3 separate regions of the Homo sapiens genome follow, and all the other regions are linked to region 1. The links are contacts of gene promoters, found by promoter capture Hi-C in human tissues and cell types (Jung and others, 2019). All regions are on one chromosome and are shown on one strand. The core of a region is centred on a gene start or on the middle of the fragment in contact, and the rest is flanking DNA. Distances in the headings are between cores, read along the strand shown. Region 1 holds the start of ELAVL2 (ELAV like RNA binding protein 2). Region 2 overlaps LOC101929563 (a long non-coding RNA gene). Region 3 overlaps LOC101929563 (a long non-coding RNA gene).

What was found. Contacts are between HindIII fragments. The study calls those that stand out against the background at their distance.
Region 2: a contact is called between a fragment that was not itself captured here and the fragment with the promoter of ELAVL2 in region 1, in 2 of the 25 tissues and cell types used here (dorsolateral prefrontal cortex and spleen).
Region 3: a fragment that was not itself captured here is called in contact with the fragment with the promoter of ELAVL2 in region 1 in 1 of the 25 tissues and cell types used here (mesendoderm cells).

What each region holds. Positions count from the first base shown.
Region 1 is chr9:23,824,868-23,827,553 of GRCh38, reverse strand. ELAVL2 (ELAV like RNA binding protein 2) reads left to right here and starts at 1,314. Exons shown (of 7, transcript NM_004432.5): 1 at 1,314-1,748. LOC105375992 (a long non-coding RNA gene) reads right to left here and starts at 1,126. Exons shown (of 3, transcript XR_929519.3): 1 at 1,037-1,126. The HindIII fragment of the contact is 12,029 bases long and covers 1-2,686 here.
Region 2 is chr9:23,607,043-23,609,728 of GRCh38, reverse strand. All of the region lies in intron 9 of LOC101929563 (a long non-coding RNA gene), which reads left to right. Among named protein-coding and RNA genes, the nearest start is that of ELAVL2, 220 kb to the left of the region's middle. The HindIII fragment of the contact is 7,072 bases long and covers 1-2,686 here.
Region 3 is chr9:23,660,908-23,663,593 of GRCh38, reverse strand. It overlaps LOC101929563 (a long non-coding RNA gene), which reads left to right. Exons shown (of 28, transcript NR_121602.1): 4 at 577-768. Among named protein-coding and RNA genes, the nearest start is that of ELAVL2, 160 kb to the left of the region's middle. The HindIII fragment of the contact is 5,088 bases long and covers 1-2,686 here.

The DNA of each region.
Region 1 (2,686 bases), core at 65-2,564:
GTACATTACATTTACACATTCTGGTAAGAATGGTAAAAACTGTCTAGGAAGTTGGTGCTATCTTTCAAGATTGAAAAGAGAAATGCTGGCTGGAAAAGAACGTAGGTCAAATGAATATTGTGTCTACTTATACATCCAGACGATCCTGAGGACCTCACTTTCACTTAGAGGAAGAAACAATTATCATGCATAAAACTGTATTTTGGTCTCCTGAATGCTGTTAAAATATGGGGTTGTAATAAAGTAGTCTTCCTCTATGAAGCAGAAGCATTGATAGCACTTGGTCTTCTGGTTAAACTTCTTAAATCCTCACAGAAAGAGCCCTGATAAAGGTTCAACTATCTTTGCTGTCAGCAATACATGTGTGGTCCAAGGACTGTACCTGTCTGCAAATGCAGAGGAGTGGCTTGTTCCAGTTTTATATACAGCTGCTCTTTTTGAGAATCATTAGACACCTCGAAGTGAAGGACCTTAGCTCTACTCAATACCTCTTTTTCTGGATAGGATATTTATCCTACACTTTTCTATTCTAACATGAAGTGAAAGCCAATTCAAACCGTGCAGCTTTATTTGAGAGCATTTCTGACTTCATCTTTATCTTAAAAGGATGCTTTAAAAAGGGGTTCATGGGGACACATAAATCTGAAATATGCGTATATTAAAATAAAGACATACAATTACCTAACATCTAATACAAAATACAGTACTGAACACAAATCGAAAAAAGGCATGCGGGCAAATAATGGATGTACATTCATCCCTTTCACTCAGATCAAAGAGAGGGAGCTCTCAATGACTCATACATACCGGACAGAGTTAAATGTTATAAAGAAATATGCCACAGATGCAGCAGTGATGGCAAAGGAAATGAATCTTTCTGAAGCAGAAAGATTTAAGAGGAAAGGAGATCGTGCCATATCGCAAACTCTGATAGTACAGTTCCAACCCTCCCACGTTGCTCTCTCCACATTTCTTTTTGCTTCTTGCATTTCCCTTCGCCGCCAGTGTTAAGAGTGTACCTCCCCGCACAACTTACCTTGAAACGGGACTCCATTGAGCTCTCGAGAGTGACACAAGCCCATAGCCAATCGTCTCACGCGGCCCCGCCTGGGCGGCCTCAATGGAAGCGTGTGGACCAATCAGGATCCTGGGGCGATGAGCAAGTTACGTTGTGGCGCGATTCGGCGTATACTTCCGCGCGTGCTGCCCGGGATAGGAGCCTGGCAGAGCAGCTGCACACACGGCAGTGCGGAGGCAGAGAAGGGGTTGGTGATACGGTGCTATAAATCTGTGGTCCAGTCCACCTCCCTTTTAAGACGTCCTCCCCCCTATTTCTGTTCTTAGTTAGAGATGCAGCAGCTTACTCCTGTAGCGACCTACTAAAAAGCAACAAGGAGAAAGACATCGTCTTTTTGAAAAAACGTTCTTTCGTCTCTTTTCTTTGTTCCTTGGTTTGTTTTTCTTGCCCCTTTTTGTTTAGTTGAACGGCAATAGGAGGGTAGTCTCTCCGTCTTTTTAAACTCTTTTTTAAGTTTCCCCTCCCCTTTCATATTTTTTTTCGCCATTTCTTTTAGCATTGGACTTTGGGGTCGAAAGCGTTTCTTTTTATTTGCTTCTTTTAAGCCGAGCACAGTTTAGGTTTCGTGCTGTCTTAAGAGAACTATCCAGCAGCTTCTTGCTCATCCTTATTGGGAGAACTGCACCGTTACTTTAAAAACACACATACACAAAAACCTTAAGGGAGAAAGGTAAGTTTCGGTTTGGTTTCTTTAATCATTAGTTGCAGCGATGCGCTGGCAAACCCAGAAAACCTGTAAGTGAGCGGAATACAGAATATGAAGTTAATTGCACATGTTTGTCTCATTTCAAAGCTACTGTTCTGCTTTTTTAATTTTAAAGAGCTAGACTAAAAGACGGTGGACGCATGCTTAGCGTACTGAATATTCGTAAATGTCCATGGCAGAAACTTAAGTGGTAAATGTGGCCAGGGGGGAGTAGGGGTACAATGGGAGGTTAGATGTGGAGTGAGCTTCAAGATTGAGATCGGAAGTTCATTTCGTGGGGAGAGAGTGATAACTTGGGTGTTGGGGATGCATGCCTCTACTTTGGCTCAGCAACGGAAGGACGGGAGAGGCTTTACAATCATTAAGGGGAATCAGAAGCCTGGACTGGCAGATTAGACCAGCGAAAACCACAGGCTTAATTGCATTAACCAGATAGCATGTGCTGGGGAGATGGGATTGCCAGATGGAATTTAGATGCTGCACCAGGCAGCGAGTTGTAGTTGACTGAAAAAAGTACATGCCGCCTGAGGGCTGGGGCTGGGGCTGGGCTGAGGCTAGGGTTGTTAGAAGCTGTCAGAACTCATCATTGTATGCGGGCTCTGATTCACGGACTCCAATTATCATAATTCAGTTTTAAAAGAAGATAGCCAATTTGGGGCTGAATTCTTAAGCCTGTACCGGATATGAGATTCCCTTTGTTCAGAAAAGCGTAAATAAGATCCTTGGAGCTGTGTCTATGAAGTGCCGGCTGCTTGGGAGCCTCGCTGTGCTGGGCGCTGGGAAGTGGATTCCAAGCCCTGTCCTTGGTCCTACGCGGCTGACTTCGCCTTCGGGGAGAGGGGGAACCCCTCTGCAGCCGCGAGGCTTCGCAGCCACCCCAGGAGCCAACTCGGCCACGTAGC
Region 2 (2,686 bases), core at 49-2,548, 220 kb after region 1:
GCATACCTGAAGCCTTCCCTTTTTTCATTATAAAGTTTTCTCATTCCCTGCCTGACCTTGACTCTGGCAAATGCAAGTGACAGTGGCTGACTCCTTGTTACATCAAGTTCTAATTAAACAGCTTTTGTTCTCATTTTGGGGGTATCTTTATTGAGACGCCCCATCATTTAATTTTCACAACAACCCTGTGAATAAAATATGAGGGTTATCTCCATTGTTGAGGTGAAGCAGAGAAGGGATATGCTATCTGCACAAGGTCACACCACTGCTAGGTGATGGGTTAGAATTTGAATCTAGGTTTGTTGGCCTCCTAAGCCCCTGTCTTTAAACCGGGACTGTATCACTGTGAGGACTTAGGAGCCAGGCATTGATAATCTCCTGGAGGATTGGTAAGAGTTGAGATTGGTAGATCATGTGTGTGTGTGTGTTTTTAAAAAATATGTCTACATTAGGTCCTCAGAACAGAGATGGCTAGCTGATCACCGGCAACGTGGCATTCCCTTTCCAGGAGGTTGAATGCCATTTTGCCGGGTTTACATTTCCCAAGGCTCTTGAATCTAGGTGAGGCCTTTGGCTATTTCTGGCTTATTTAATGTGAACCTAAATTATTATGTGTTACTTTGGAAGAGGTGGTTAAATTTTTGGTAGGCCATGCCTACACTCATATTATTGCATGAAAATAGTGGTATGTTATGTTGCAGTTGCAAACAGTAAAAGTTGGAAGGAACCTGGATCCCCTAGTTTGTGTTTAGGAGAACAGCCAGACCAGGAATATCCACATTACATTTGGCATAGATGAGAAATAATTGTTGATTATATTAAGTCATTGAGGTTTTGGGGTTCTTTCCTCACTTAGCCTACCCTGATTAATATACTTCTCTCTAAGGACACTTCTACAGGGAAGAATAGGCCCCCCAGATCGTTTTCTAGTAGCAATTATATTTCACCTGGATAACTAATATGTAGATGTTGATATTTTCTTGAAAGTGTTCATAGAATTTTTAGTGTGTACAGCTAGAAATGCAGGCACAGTAGACTGTGGTACTAGGAGTTGACATGGAATGCAATTGATTGTAGCCACACCGGGAACAGGACAGACAAGGTAAATAAATTATGAATTCCAGGGGAAAGGAGTTTGCAATAGCTGCTATTTCATTTCCCTCTTAACCCCCTGTGACTGTAAACACGCTTATAGATATATTTTATTAATCATTGTTTTGATGTATCTGGAGTTTGCAAGTGGCTATTGTAGCTAGGGGATTTCTGGACACCCCTCTAGCTGATCAGATGAGGGACACAAATGCTGCAGTGACAAGCTAGTCTGTGTATGAAAAGAGAAATGGAAAAGCTCTCCCTCACCAGCACTTGTAACTAGCTATTTGTTTAAAATAACAGCTTTAGGCCTCTTTCCAACTGTGCTGTCCTCACTTCTGTCTACAGATGATGGACTTTAGACTGAAAATTACATGAGAGATACTTAACAAGTGGATATCTTTCAAGGGACATCATCAGAATAAAACACTTCAAAATTCACTTTATGCTGCTTGAAGAAAGATAGCATTGATATGATATTTTGAAAGAGCGATAACTACCAGAACTTAAAAAGACCTGTTCATTTTATAAAGGAGGCAAAGAAGTGTGTCATTAATGGTACAGTACGCTAAATCTTGAGAGGAGAGGATAGGCTTTGCATAACTCCAGACTTATCCACAATAAACTGTGTGTGTACTGGTGGTTTATTTCTATCTACACTTCATTGGGTGGTGGTAACTACTAGTCTCAAACCTTGATTCTTTCCCAGGACAGCTCACAGTGAGGTCTGACCCAATCTAGCATCACCCTAGGTCTCAGAAAACCTGGTGAGATCTCTTCTCATTCTGAAGTCCGTCTTGGTAATCTTGCCATATTACCTTTTACTATAGAAATATAATTTTAATTTTTGTCTGATTGTTCCTCTGCCTTGTTTACCACTCATCTGTTTTGTTCACTGCTGCATCTCCAGTGCCCAGCACACTTCCTGGCACATAGAGTACATTAATTCACTGTGGAATATACACAGTTGTAAGCAAGGTGACTAGAGATGGCAGGAATTGGAGAAGTCTTAACATCTAAATATAAGATGGGGCTTGGGACAAAATGTGAAGGTTAGATAAGTTTGAATATGCAGAGATAAAAGTGTTCCACATGGAGAATGGAACACTAAGGAGCTAAATCTAGGAGTCAGGAATGGGTTCAGTATGTTTAAGGGACAGCAAGTAGACAGCTGGGGAGACTGTGGAGGAACGGAAAGTGTGTTTCATGGCTTTAGAATGTCAAGCATTAATAGAAGTATGCAAAATTCTTCATTGAAAATTATAGGATAGCCTTGCGTTAACTCAAAAATTGTAAAATACCCTGTATGGAATAACTTTACAAGTTAAAACCACACACTTCAACTTCTGTTATCCTGTGAGGTTCATCTGCATGAAGCTCTCTTTAATACTCTACATGTAAAACCAGAATATAAGAGCATTTTTGGTTTCATGGCTTGCTGTGGACTGAATGTTTGTACCTTTCAAAATTAGTATGTTGAAGCCTAAGTTCTCAATGTGTTCAGCGGTGTGGCCTTTGGGAGGTAATTAGGCCATGAGGTCAGAGGCCTCATGAATGGGATTAATACCTTTACAAAAAGATAAAGAGGCCAGAG
Region 3 (2,686 bases), core at 79-2,578, 160 kb after region 1:
AAATCAAGGATCTTTTACGAGAGATGTTGGCGAGATTTCACCACTGATAGTCCTGTTCACCTGTGTGAACAGAAAGTTGGGCAGGTATAAAACAACTGCTTTGTTTTTCCAAAACTTGGCCCATTACAGCATGAAATTCACATTGGCGAAGTGAAAAGGATTAAGCCTTTTTCAGTAGAGCAGGTATGAGGGGACTTTTTACTTGGTAAGAAAAACTGTTGTACAGGAAATGAACATAGTTCACACTCCAGTCACATTTTATGCAGTCAGGAACTGGGTGAGCAGAGTATCATCCCAGGCATATACAGTCTGAAGATCTTTTAAGGTTCTACATAGTTTCCTGTGATACAGCAGATATAGTCAAGAAAGATTTCCCAGGACCCAGTTCCCTGGCTTGCTGGCAGGTTTCAGATAACTGTGATTGGCCTCATTTGGGGACTTTGAGGTATATAGAGACAAATTCACGTAACTAGTGCTGACAGGTTATTTTATCTTCAATTAGGTGGTGGCATGCACCAAGATCAGATTGTTCTACCTGAGTTAAAGATGTTCCTCCTGTTGCCTTTTGTGAAGCAGGAGAGAATCAGAGCACCAGTGGAACAACAGCAGTGAGAAGCTCATCAGCTTCACGAACTGACCACAGACCAATCAGTGAATTCCTGTCCTGCTTTCACTTTGCTTTCCGTGCTATGTGGAAATAAGAGCTCTCCTCATGGGTCCAGTGTGAGGAACAGATAGCAAGCACTGATTGGGTGGAACCAGCCAAAGGTAGCTATGAATAATAGTACAAAAATAATTTTTATTAGGGAAAGGTGAAGCCGATTAGCCCTCAAATCCTCCATTTCTAAGCATAGACTCTTGTTAAAGGTTGTACCCATTAATGTTTATCCCCACCACTGATCCACCATTGTTACCCAGGGTTATTCTGATTTAGGTGCCGCAGAGGAACTGGAATGGATAAGTCAGTTCATTGAGCAAACCCATGAGACTTATCATAGTACCCAGAGCTTCAAGCTGCATGTAGCCTGGTGTTGGTGGTGGGGAAAAGTCCCTGCTGTGCGTCACATGAGGTGGTGACTTAACTGTTAACCTGAATCACCAGTGTGAATACCCAGTTAAGTAGTAAGGCACAGCCCCTGTGAGAGTAAGTCCTCATTTCAGTGATGAGTCCAGAGAGTAAGAATAGCATAAAGATGGCAGAGGACTTCACAGTGGTATAGGGGAGCAAGCATCACTTTACTGGGGGAGGGTACAGGGGGGTCTTTATCATCACCAGCATCATCTTGTTCATGCAAAGGTCATTATCTGATAAAGTGGATGGAAGTTCCAAAGAAGAGGACAGGGACTGTAAACTCTGGGCTATTCTTTATTCTGCAACATTGATTAAAAGTTGCTGTGACAGGCTCTGCCCTAGGGCTCCAGGATACAGTGAATAACACAGATGTGGTGCCTACCCTCATGAAGGTTACCTTCCATTCAGGGAAGACAGGCATGAGTAAGTAATAAAAATAATTATAGATTTGATAAGGGTTTTGAAGGGAACAAAAATAAGAGGCTGAGGTAGAGAATCATTGGTGAAGGGTGAGAGGAAGCCATTTTTCAAAGAATATTAGGGCAGGAGATATTGAAATTGAGACTTGAATGAGAAGGTAACAACATAGTAATAAACATTTGTGAAAAAGGAAACATACAAAGGCCCTAATGTGTTTGAAGAAGTTTGAGAAAAATGATGTGACAGTTCATGGTTGTGTTAGGGTTACACAGAGAAATAGAACCAATAGGAGATACATATCTATCTAGATATATACCATATATATAAAACATTTTTGTGTTTTTATGTATAAAGGACTTTATTATAAGGAATTGGTTCACACGATTATGGAGGTGGGCAAATCTCAAGATCTGCAAGGTGAGTCTGCAAGCTCCAGACCCCGGACAGCCAATGGTGTATTAATAATATGAGTCCAAAGGCTTGAGAAGCATGAGAGCTTGAGACCCAGAAGGAGCCAATGTTCATGTCTGAAGGGAGGAAAAAGTCAATGTCGTAGTTCAAAGGCAGTCAGGCAGGCGGAGTCAGGCAGAAGGAGTTTTCTCCTGTTGACTAGAGGGCCAACCTTTGTGTTCTATTCAGGGCTTCAACTGATGGGCTCATCCACATTAGGGAGTGTGTATTGGTTAGTTTTATGTGTCAGTTGGGCTAATGTAAGAGATGCCCAGATACCTAGTTAAACATTATTTCTGGGTGTATCTGTGAGGCTGTTTCTGGAAGAGATTGTCATTGTAATTGGACTGAGAGCAAATTACCCTCCCCATTGTAGGGTGGGTATCATCCAACCCACTGATGGCCTGACTGGAACAAAATGGCACAAGAACATTAATCTGACTGCTTGAGTGGAGACATTAGTCTTCTTTCCTTGTACTGGGACTTACAGCATTAGCACCCCTGGGTTTCAGGCCTTCAGATTGTCATTTGCACCACTTGTGGGACTTGTTAGCCTCTGTAATCATGTGAGCCCATTCCTTATCTCATTACAGACATACACATATTTTATATGTATAATCTCCATCTTACTGGTTCTCTTTCTCTGGAAAGCCCTGACTAACACAGAGGGCAATCTGCTTTACTCAGTCTGCTGATTCAAATGTTAGTCTCATCCAGAAACACCCTCATAGACACATTCAGAAT